3 separate regions of the Homo sapiens genome follow, and all the other regions are linked to region 2. The links are contacts of gene promoters, found by promoter capture Hi-C in blood cells and fetal thymus (Javierre and others, 2016). All regions are on one chromosome and are shown on one strand. The core of a region is centred on a gene start or on the middle of the fragment in contact, and the rest is flanking DNA. Distances in the headings are between cores, read along the strand shown. Region 1 has its middle 24 kb from the start of SHOC1. Region 2 holds the start of HSDL2 (hydroxysteroid dehydrogenase like 2). Region 3 overlaps SHOC1 (shortage in chiasmata 1).

Region 1 (2,700 bases), core at 148-2,647, 560 kb before region 2:
TGTACGGGAGACTAGAGTTTTATTATTACTCAAACAAATCAGTCTCCCTGAAAACCAGAGACCAGGGTTTTTCAGGATAATTTGGTGGGTAGGTGGTTGGAAAGCGGAGAGTGCTGATTGGTCGAGTCAGAGGTGAAATCATAAGGAGTCAAAGCTGTTCCTTTGCACTGAGCCGGTTCCTGGGTAGGGACCACAAGACCAGATGAGCCAATTTATCGATCTAGTTGGTGCCACCTGATCCACTGAGTGCAAGGTCTGGAAAATATCTCAAATGCTGATCTTAGGTTTTATAATAGTCTTGTTATTCTCAGGAGAAATTTGAGAGGTTCAGAATCTTGCAGCCTCCAGCCACAGGACTCCTAAACCATAATTTCTAATCTTGTGGCTAATTTATTAGTCCTACAAAACCAATCTAATCTCTAGTCAGAAAGGGAGTTTGTTTTGGGAAAGAGCTGTTATCTTCTTTGTTTCAAAGTTAAACTATAAACTAAATTCCTCTCAAAGTTAGTTTGGCCTCCACCCTGGAATGAACAAGGACACCTTGGAGGTTAGAAGCAAGACGGAGTCGGTTAGGTCAGATCGTTTTCACTGTAATAATTTTCTCAGTTATACTTTTTGCAAAGGTGGTTTCAGAAAAACCTTCAAAAGTTCCCAGTATGGCGGCTCCTCATAAAATGAAAATAGAATTATCATATGATCCAGCAATTTCACTTCTAGATATTTACCCAAAAGAATTGAAAGCAGGGACTCAGATATTTGTACATCCATGTTCATGGCAGCTTTATTCACAATAGCCAACAGCTGGAAACAATCCAAATGCCTATCAACAGATAAATGGATAAATAAAATGTGATGTATCCATACAATGGAATAGTATTCAGCCTTTGAAAGGAGTGAAATTCTGAAACATGCTAAACATGGATGAACCTATAAAACATTACGCTAAATGAGCTGGGCATGGTGGCTCACACCTGTAATCCCAGCACTTTTGGAGGCCAAGGCGGGTGGATCACGAGGTCAGGAGATCAGGACCATCCTGGCTAACACGGTGAAACCCCGTCTCTACTAAAAATACAAAAAATTAGCCGGGCATGGTGGCACGTGCCTGTAGTCCCACCTACTCTGGAGGCTGATTCAGGAGAATCGCTTGAACCCAGGTGGTGGAGATTGCAGTGAGCTAAGATCGCGCCACTGCACTCCAGCCTGGGTGACAGAGTGAGACTATGGCTCAAAAAAAAAAAAAAAAAAAAAAAATTGTGCTAAGTGAAATGAGCTAGATGCAAAAGGACAAATCCTGTAGGATTCCACTTATGTGAAATATTTAGAACGGTCAAATTCATACAGACAGAAAGTAGAAAAGTGGTTACCAGGGGCTAGAGGGAGGAGAGAATACAGAGCTATTCTTTAATAGGTACTGAGCTTCAGTTTGGGGTGATGAAAGTATTGCGGAGATGGATAGTGATGATGGTGGCTCAACAATATAAAGACGAGCAAGAATGCCACTGAAATGTACACTTTAAATGATTAAAATGAAAATTCTTATATATATTTTACCATAGTTTTAAAAAATCTAATTAAAAAAAACTAAAGAAGGACAAAAATGACTGAAAGTGAGGCCAGTGGACCTGGAGAGGTCAGGATGAGGAAGACTTAGAGTGACTTGTGAGGTCCTGGGGACTGATGAGCCAAGTGGGCACAGACATTTCAGCACCGTTATAGGGGGGATAGGCAACCAATACAAAAGAAACAGATTATTCATCTTAGAAGAAGCCAACTAGGTGGTTTGCTGAAGCCCATAAACCATGTTCCTCTTTCCCAAAGTCAGGATGATAGACCACCCAGGAGGACTTGGATCATTCAGAACCTAGATGTTACACCCCAAGAAGGGAGAGAAGGAAGTAAAAGGAGAAAATCCTAATTTGACTATTTAACCAAAAAAGATTGAGTTTAAACTGCAAGTAACTGAGATTACTTTGGATTACAGAGTTAGGTTTTCCATTATCAGTGAAATAACCCATGAGCTAAAGTGAGTTATAAGGAAATCATTTACATTTTGCACACATGAATGTGACTGAGAAATGTATTTCCATTGTGTTGTTATATACCTTTTCTAAACCTAAAACTAAGGTGTTTCTCAAATCTGTGGCAATAATGGGGCACTTTGGTGTGGAACAGGGAGTTCTTGGTTCAAGATTATTGCATCTTCTTTGCACTCACCATCTGATACAACCACATAGTCATATTGATGGTCATCTTCTAGACCAACCCCAGAACATGGGTATTTATGAAGCTGGATCTTTGGGGTACCTACAGTTAAAACAATGAACAAACATGGCTCTTCAGGTCCCATGTGGCACCTAGGCCTTTGAGAACATCTCTCTTTTTTTTTTTTTTTTTTTGAGACAGTCTCGCTGTGTCGCCCAGGCTGGAGTTCAGTGGCGCGATCTCGGCTCACTGCAAGCTCTGCCTCCCAGGTTCAGGCAATTCTCCTGCCTCAGCCTCCTGAGTAGCTGGGACTACAGGCGCCCGCCACCACACCCGGCTAATTTTTTCTATTTTTAGTAGAGATGGGGGTTCACCGGGTTAGTCCGGATGGTCCCAAGCTCCTGACCTCGTGATACAGCTGCCTCAGCCTCCCAAAGTGCTGGGATTACAGGCGTGAGCCCCCGCGCCTGGTCCCGAGAACATCTTTATACTGTT
Region 2 (2,700 bases), core at 166-2,665:
CTCATACCTCCCATAGGCAGAGACCTTGTCCTTTTTGAGCTGCTGTATCTCAGGTAATCAGCAATCACTTAGTGGATGATAATAATTTGCAAATTCCTCTGGAGCCTCTAAAGACCGTATCATGAATCATCAATTCAAATGCCTACAGGAGTCGGGCAGGTGATATGCAGGAGGAAATAGAGTCATTTAGGGCCCATAACAAAGGGGAGAGAGGCCGGGCGCGGAGGCTCACGCCTGTAATCCCAGCACTTTGGAAGGCCGAGGCGGGCCAATCATTTGAGGTCAGGAGCTCGAGACCAGCCAGCCCAACATGGCGAAACCCCGTCTCTACTAAAAACACAAAAAAATTAGCCAGGCGTGGTGATGCATGCCTGTAGTCCCAGCTACTCCGGAGGCTGAGGGAGGAGAATCACTTGAACCCGGGAGGCGGAGGTTACAATGAGCCGAGATCCGCGCCACTGCACTTCAGCGTGGGCGACAGCGAGACTCCGTCTCAAAAAACAAAACAAAAACAAAGGAGAGAGTACATAAGCCATCTCCAGGCTAGTTTCTTTAACTAGTCTTCATATAATAATCTCCTCAAGGTCCTGTTCTATCCCTACAAAATACAAAACAGTTCCTCGTGTCTTCCTTCAAATATACTACAGTCTTTAGCTCATCAGAGTAGCTGAGTTAGTCCAAGGCATAATCCCAAAAGCGAAACTGAATGTCAGAATTGATCTCATTTCAACACTCATTCCAGAAGTAGAAACTTCTGCAAGTTCAGCTTTTGACTATGAATTCTTCAGCGCGACTTTTGCAGAGAGCTCTGTTCCAAGAAGCTGGCGCCTTAACACAAGCTATCTACCGATGCACAAGGGAAGGCTGGCTTGGGTCCAGATTCGGCGGGAGAGTGGAAACGCGACGCTGGCCGACTTCAGCCACAAAGGCAATTTCTGCCCAGGGCTAGCGTTCCTAAGAGGGGGCCGAGAGAACGCCAGGCTCGGGCGTAGGGGCAAGAAGACCCAGAGCTAACGCACCTCTCGGAGGGCCCAAGCTCAGGGCTCAGTCACCCTCCCAGCTCGGAGCCGGCGCTGGAACACAGCGGCGCGAGGAGAAACCCCTAGAGACAGGGAAAAGGTGGACGTAGCGGCTGACGCTGCCCAGACGCTAGGCGCCGACAGGAGCCTGATTGTCACCGTACGACCAGTGAGGGGGCGGGGCGGAGCTGTGCCTCAAAGCGCCTGCGCGGAGAGCCTGCAATCAGGGACCAGGCTTGGGAGGCGACGAAGAGGAACGCTGGGCGCAGGAGGCCCACTGCATACGCAGGCGCACTCGGCGATCCCGGCTTTTCCGCGCGCAGTTCCCGCACAGGCATCGGGGGGGGCAGGGGCGGGGCAGGGGCGGGGATAAATGCGGAGGGACGGTCCAGCTTTAGCTCTCTGCTCGCCGCCGCCGCTGTCGCCGCCACCTCCTCTGATCTACGAAAGTCATGTTACCCAACACCGGGTAAGGGGGTAGGGGCGGCGCGGGGAGAGACCCTGTCGGGCGAAGGGCGCGTCTCGGTGGGGCCGCCGCGGATCGCCCGGGCTGGCCGGCCCGGCTGTGGGAGGTCAAGGATACTGCCTGGGCACGCTCTGAGCTCTGGTCCGCGCTGGGCACTGTGCACCGAGAATCTGCGGTAACGTGTGAAAAGGAACACAAACTTTTGTATTACAGGATGGCAGCAGTGTAGAAACCTTTTCCACGGGTAAAGGGCCGAGGGGGAGTCACCACGCCGCCCCCAGTGCCGGCCCTCCCTGAGTTTAGCAGGAGTGCGTGCCTGGCCGAATGCGTGTGAGTTCTAGGTGAAAGGTCGCAGGAGCAGCTCCAGAGTTTAAAGAGTTTTCACTTGTTCCTGACGCTCAATTCTAGAGTAATAATGGAGTGTTTAAAAAATGATTTCCAAATTAGAAACTAAACCGATCTTAAAACATGGGTATCTTTGGGGGATTTTTTTTTCACCTTAAAAAATTGTGTTAAAATACGTACAAAATCTGCCATCTTAACCGTTTTTTAAGTGTACACTTCAGTAGTGTTAAGTAGATTCATATCGTTGTGCAGTCAATCTCCAGAACTTTTTTCATCTGCAAGCTGAAACTCTATCCATGAAACAACTCCTCTTCCCCACCTCCGCTCGTACATTGGCAACCACCATTCTACTTTCTGGTTTATGTAAGGTCTGGGTATCTTGAGTTGAGTGACGTGTTGTCAGATTTTGTAATTTGCCTGAAACATGCAGGCATATAGCCAAAGACTTAAAACAGTTCAAAGAGTATAGGGTAAAAAGTGAGTCTCCCCATCCCTAAAATCTAGTTCCCCAGTTACTTACGTTTCTATTTCGTGCATGTATGAACATAATTTGTATACATCCGGATACACACACACACACACACACACACACACATACCCTTTCTTAAAAATAGCAGCAGACTCTATTCTTGGTCTTGCTACTTTTAGTTGGTATGTCTTGGGACATTCTTTCTTTGTTTTTTTTAAAGACGGGGTCTCCCATGTTGCCCAGACTGGCCTGTAGCCTTGAACTCCCAGGCTGATGTTCCTCCCTTCTTAGCCTCTGGAGTATTTAGGATTACAGGCATGCACCGCTGTGCCCAGGGACATACATTTTTAGTACATGGCAGATCTTCCGCCTCCTTTTTTTTTCTTTTGAGATGGAGTCTC
Region 3 (2,700 bases), core at 162-2,661, 610 kb before region 2:
TCTCTTGGGTATTATCAGACCTTCCCGTACTGGAGATTTATATCTTTCTCAAGCTCTGGAAAATTTTGTATTTTTTCTTTCTGCCCTCTGCCTTTGCTCAGCTCCCTTTTGAACATCAAGAATTCTTAGATTTGGTTTTTGAGGTAATTTTCTATATCTTGTAGGCAGTTTTTGTTCTTTTTCTTTCTTTTTTCTTTTTTCTCCTCTGACTGTATTTTCAAATAGCTGGTCTTTGAGCTCACTGATTCTTCCCTCTGGTTGTTCCATTTGGATGTTGAGAGCCTCTAATTAGTTGTTCAGCTCAGCAAACGTATTTCTCAGTTCCAAAATTTGTTTGAGTTTTTAAAGTTAACTTTAAAAATTTAACAAATTCTCTTTGTTAAATTTCTCCAGCAATTTTCTGAATTGCTTTTCTGTATTATTTTAGAGATCACTGAATTTCCTTGAAACTGCTCTTTTGAATTTTTGGTCAGAGAGCTCACAAATGACTGTCTTGTTAGGGTCGGTCACTGGATTTTTCCTTTGTCCTTTTGCAGAGGTCACATTTCCCTATTCAGTGTTGTTTCTTGTGGGTATATGTCTATGTCTTTGCATTGAAGGATTGGTTATTTATTCCAGCTTCCTCTATTCAACTTGTCTTGGTTTTTATTGGATATATTTTCTTAGCAAATCTTCACTACTATTGCCTTTTTCTTGGCTATAGGTGATATCTTAAGCCCAGGTTTGCCTTGCCTCTAGCAAATGGTCAGGGCACTGTCTGCCCCAAATGGGAGAGTCTGAAAATGATTATCCCAACAGTGACAGAAGTCTGGCTAGAGGTTCGTGCCCAAGGGACCTGTGGCACAAATTAGCTATTGTGATTTGGCTCCTTTGCCTGAGTTACCGAGCAGAGTTTCCAGGGCTGGGGAAGGTAGTCCCTTCTCCCCTCTTTGTCTCTCCTTTCAGGCAGTCATGATGCTTTCCACAGGTTAAATAAAGAAGTCTCCTGCCAGGGAATCCAAGATGGAGGGAAAGCTAGTTGACTATGCCACTCTCACTTTTTCCAGCATAGAAACCATGAGTTTGGGGAAGATTTTCCATGTGGTTGTTGTCAGGCAGAATGGGCAGGGTGGGGCATCATGGATATGGAAGTTGGATTCTCCTACCGTCTGCTTGAAGTTTTTTCACTTCTCTGTGTCCCTAGGATCTGTCTCATCCTCATATTTGAGATGTGAGTTGTTGCTAGTGAAAATTTTGGCATTGTATATTTGTTTTTGGTTTCCCATATGAGCAGTGAAGCCAGCTTGCTTCTGTGCCACCATTTTAAAACGATAAGTCAGATTACTGCTTTTTATTGTAAACTTTAACAAACTATTTGACTCTCTAAACTATATGCATATGCAACTTTATTTATTTTATTTTATTTTTATTTATTATTTTTTGAGATGGAGTTTCACTCTTGTTGCCTAGGCTGGAGGGCAATGGTGTGATCTCGGCTCATGGCAACCTCTGCCTCCCAGGTTCAAGTGATTCTCCTGCCTCAGCCTCCCAAATAGCTGAGATTACAGGTGCCTGCCACTACGCCCAGCTAATTTTGTATTTTTGGTAGAGACAGGGTTTCACCACGTTGGCCAGGCTGGTTTCGAACGCCTGACCCCAGGTGATCCACCCGCCTCAGTCTCCCAAAGTGATGGAATTACAGGCATGAGCTACTGTGGCTGGCCTAACTTTATTTTTTAAAATAAAAATAAAAGCTACATTTATATTTGTTTATATGTTCCCAGGATACCTAGAGAGATGCTTAAGAGTTTCATGTATTAACAAATAATATGTGAACATTGTAGAAAAATTAGCAAATATCAATAAACCAACAACCATAAAAGAAAACCAGCCACTGTTTTATGTTTTAAAGATATATGTGTTTTGAAATTATAATTTAGTAATTATTTATAATTCTTATAAGACATAGCATATTTACAAATCCCCAAATATACTATGTTCCTTTTGATTTAGACAATAAGACCAAATTATCTACAAATCTGGCAGCAATCAATATAATTGCAAAGAAAATAAATAAAATTAAAAATCTAAATTTATAAAGTGATGTCCGGTGACACAGGACACCTGAGGAAATATAGGATATGGACAATGTGTATGCATTTGGGAAATTCAAGCATATTTTCTCTCAGTCAATAGTTGATTCTAGCCGACAGTAGCTTCTAGTTTGCCACATTTATACTACTATGTTTGTGTAACCCATTAGTTTTTATAAGCCATCTCTTTAAATATACTTATATAAACTTACATATATTAGTTTATCCCCACAAAAAATTATTAAAAAATAGAAGAATATATAATAGAAATAAATTATAGAACAAAATTTAAAAATCTTAAAAATTTTCTCCCAAATCTCAAAACCACTTTTTCTCCAGACAGGGTCTCACTCTGTCACCCAAGCTGGAGTGCAGTGGCACGATCATGGCTTACTACAGCCTTGAACACCTGGGTTCAAGCAATCTTCCCACTTCAGCCTTACAAATAGCTAGGACTACAGAACTGCCACCACACCTGGCTAATTTTTAACAATCTTTTTGTGGAGACAGGGTCTTGCCATGTTGCCCAGGCTGGTCTCAAACTCCTGGCCTCAAGTGATGTTCCACTTTTTACGAGTAGACTTGGACTGAAAATTCAAGTCTTCTGACTCCAAATTCAGGCTCTTTC

The links. The method cuts DNA at HindIII sites, captures the fragments that hold promoters and counts their contacts. A CHiCAGO score of 5 or more calls a contact.
Region 1: a contact is called between a fragment that was not itself captured here and the fragment with the promoter of HSDL2 in region 2, in 1 of 17 cell types (M1 macrophages). The highest score is 5.0, in M1 macrophages.
Region 3: a contact is called between a fragment that was not itself captured here and the fragment with the promoter of HSDL2 in region 2, in 1 of 17 cell types (total B cells). The highest score is 5.5, in total B cells.

The regions. Positions count from the first base shown.
Region 1 is chr9:111,817,346-111,820,045 of GRCh38, forward strand. No RefSeq gene overlaps it. Among named protein-coding and RNA genes, the nearest start is that of SHOC1, 24 kb to the left of the region's middle. The HindIII fragment of the contact is 3,992 bases long and covers 1-2,700 here.
Region 2 is chr9:112,378,693-112,381,392 of GRCh38, forward strand. It overlaps HSDL2 (hydroxysteroid dehydrogenase like 2), which reads left to right and starts at 1,416. Exons shown (of 11, transcript NM_032303.5): 1 at 1,416-1,488. The coding sequence starts at 1,472. It also overlaps a transcript of PTBP3 not described here. RefSeq lists enhancers at 600-649, 750-999, 999-1,598, 1,030-1,149 and a silencer at 1,370-1,619. The HindIII fragment of the contact is 10,070 bases long and covers 1-2,700 here.
Region 3 is chr9:111,771,909-111,774,608 of GRCh38, forward strand. The region is part of intron 5 of SHOC1 (shortage in chiasmata 1); the gene reads right to left. Among named protein-coding and RNA genes, the nearest start is that of SHOC1, 22 kb to the right of the region's middle. The HindIII fragment of the contact is 4,685 bases long and covers 1-2,700 here.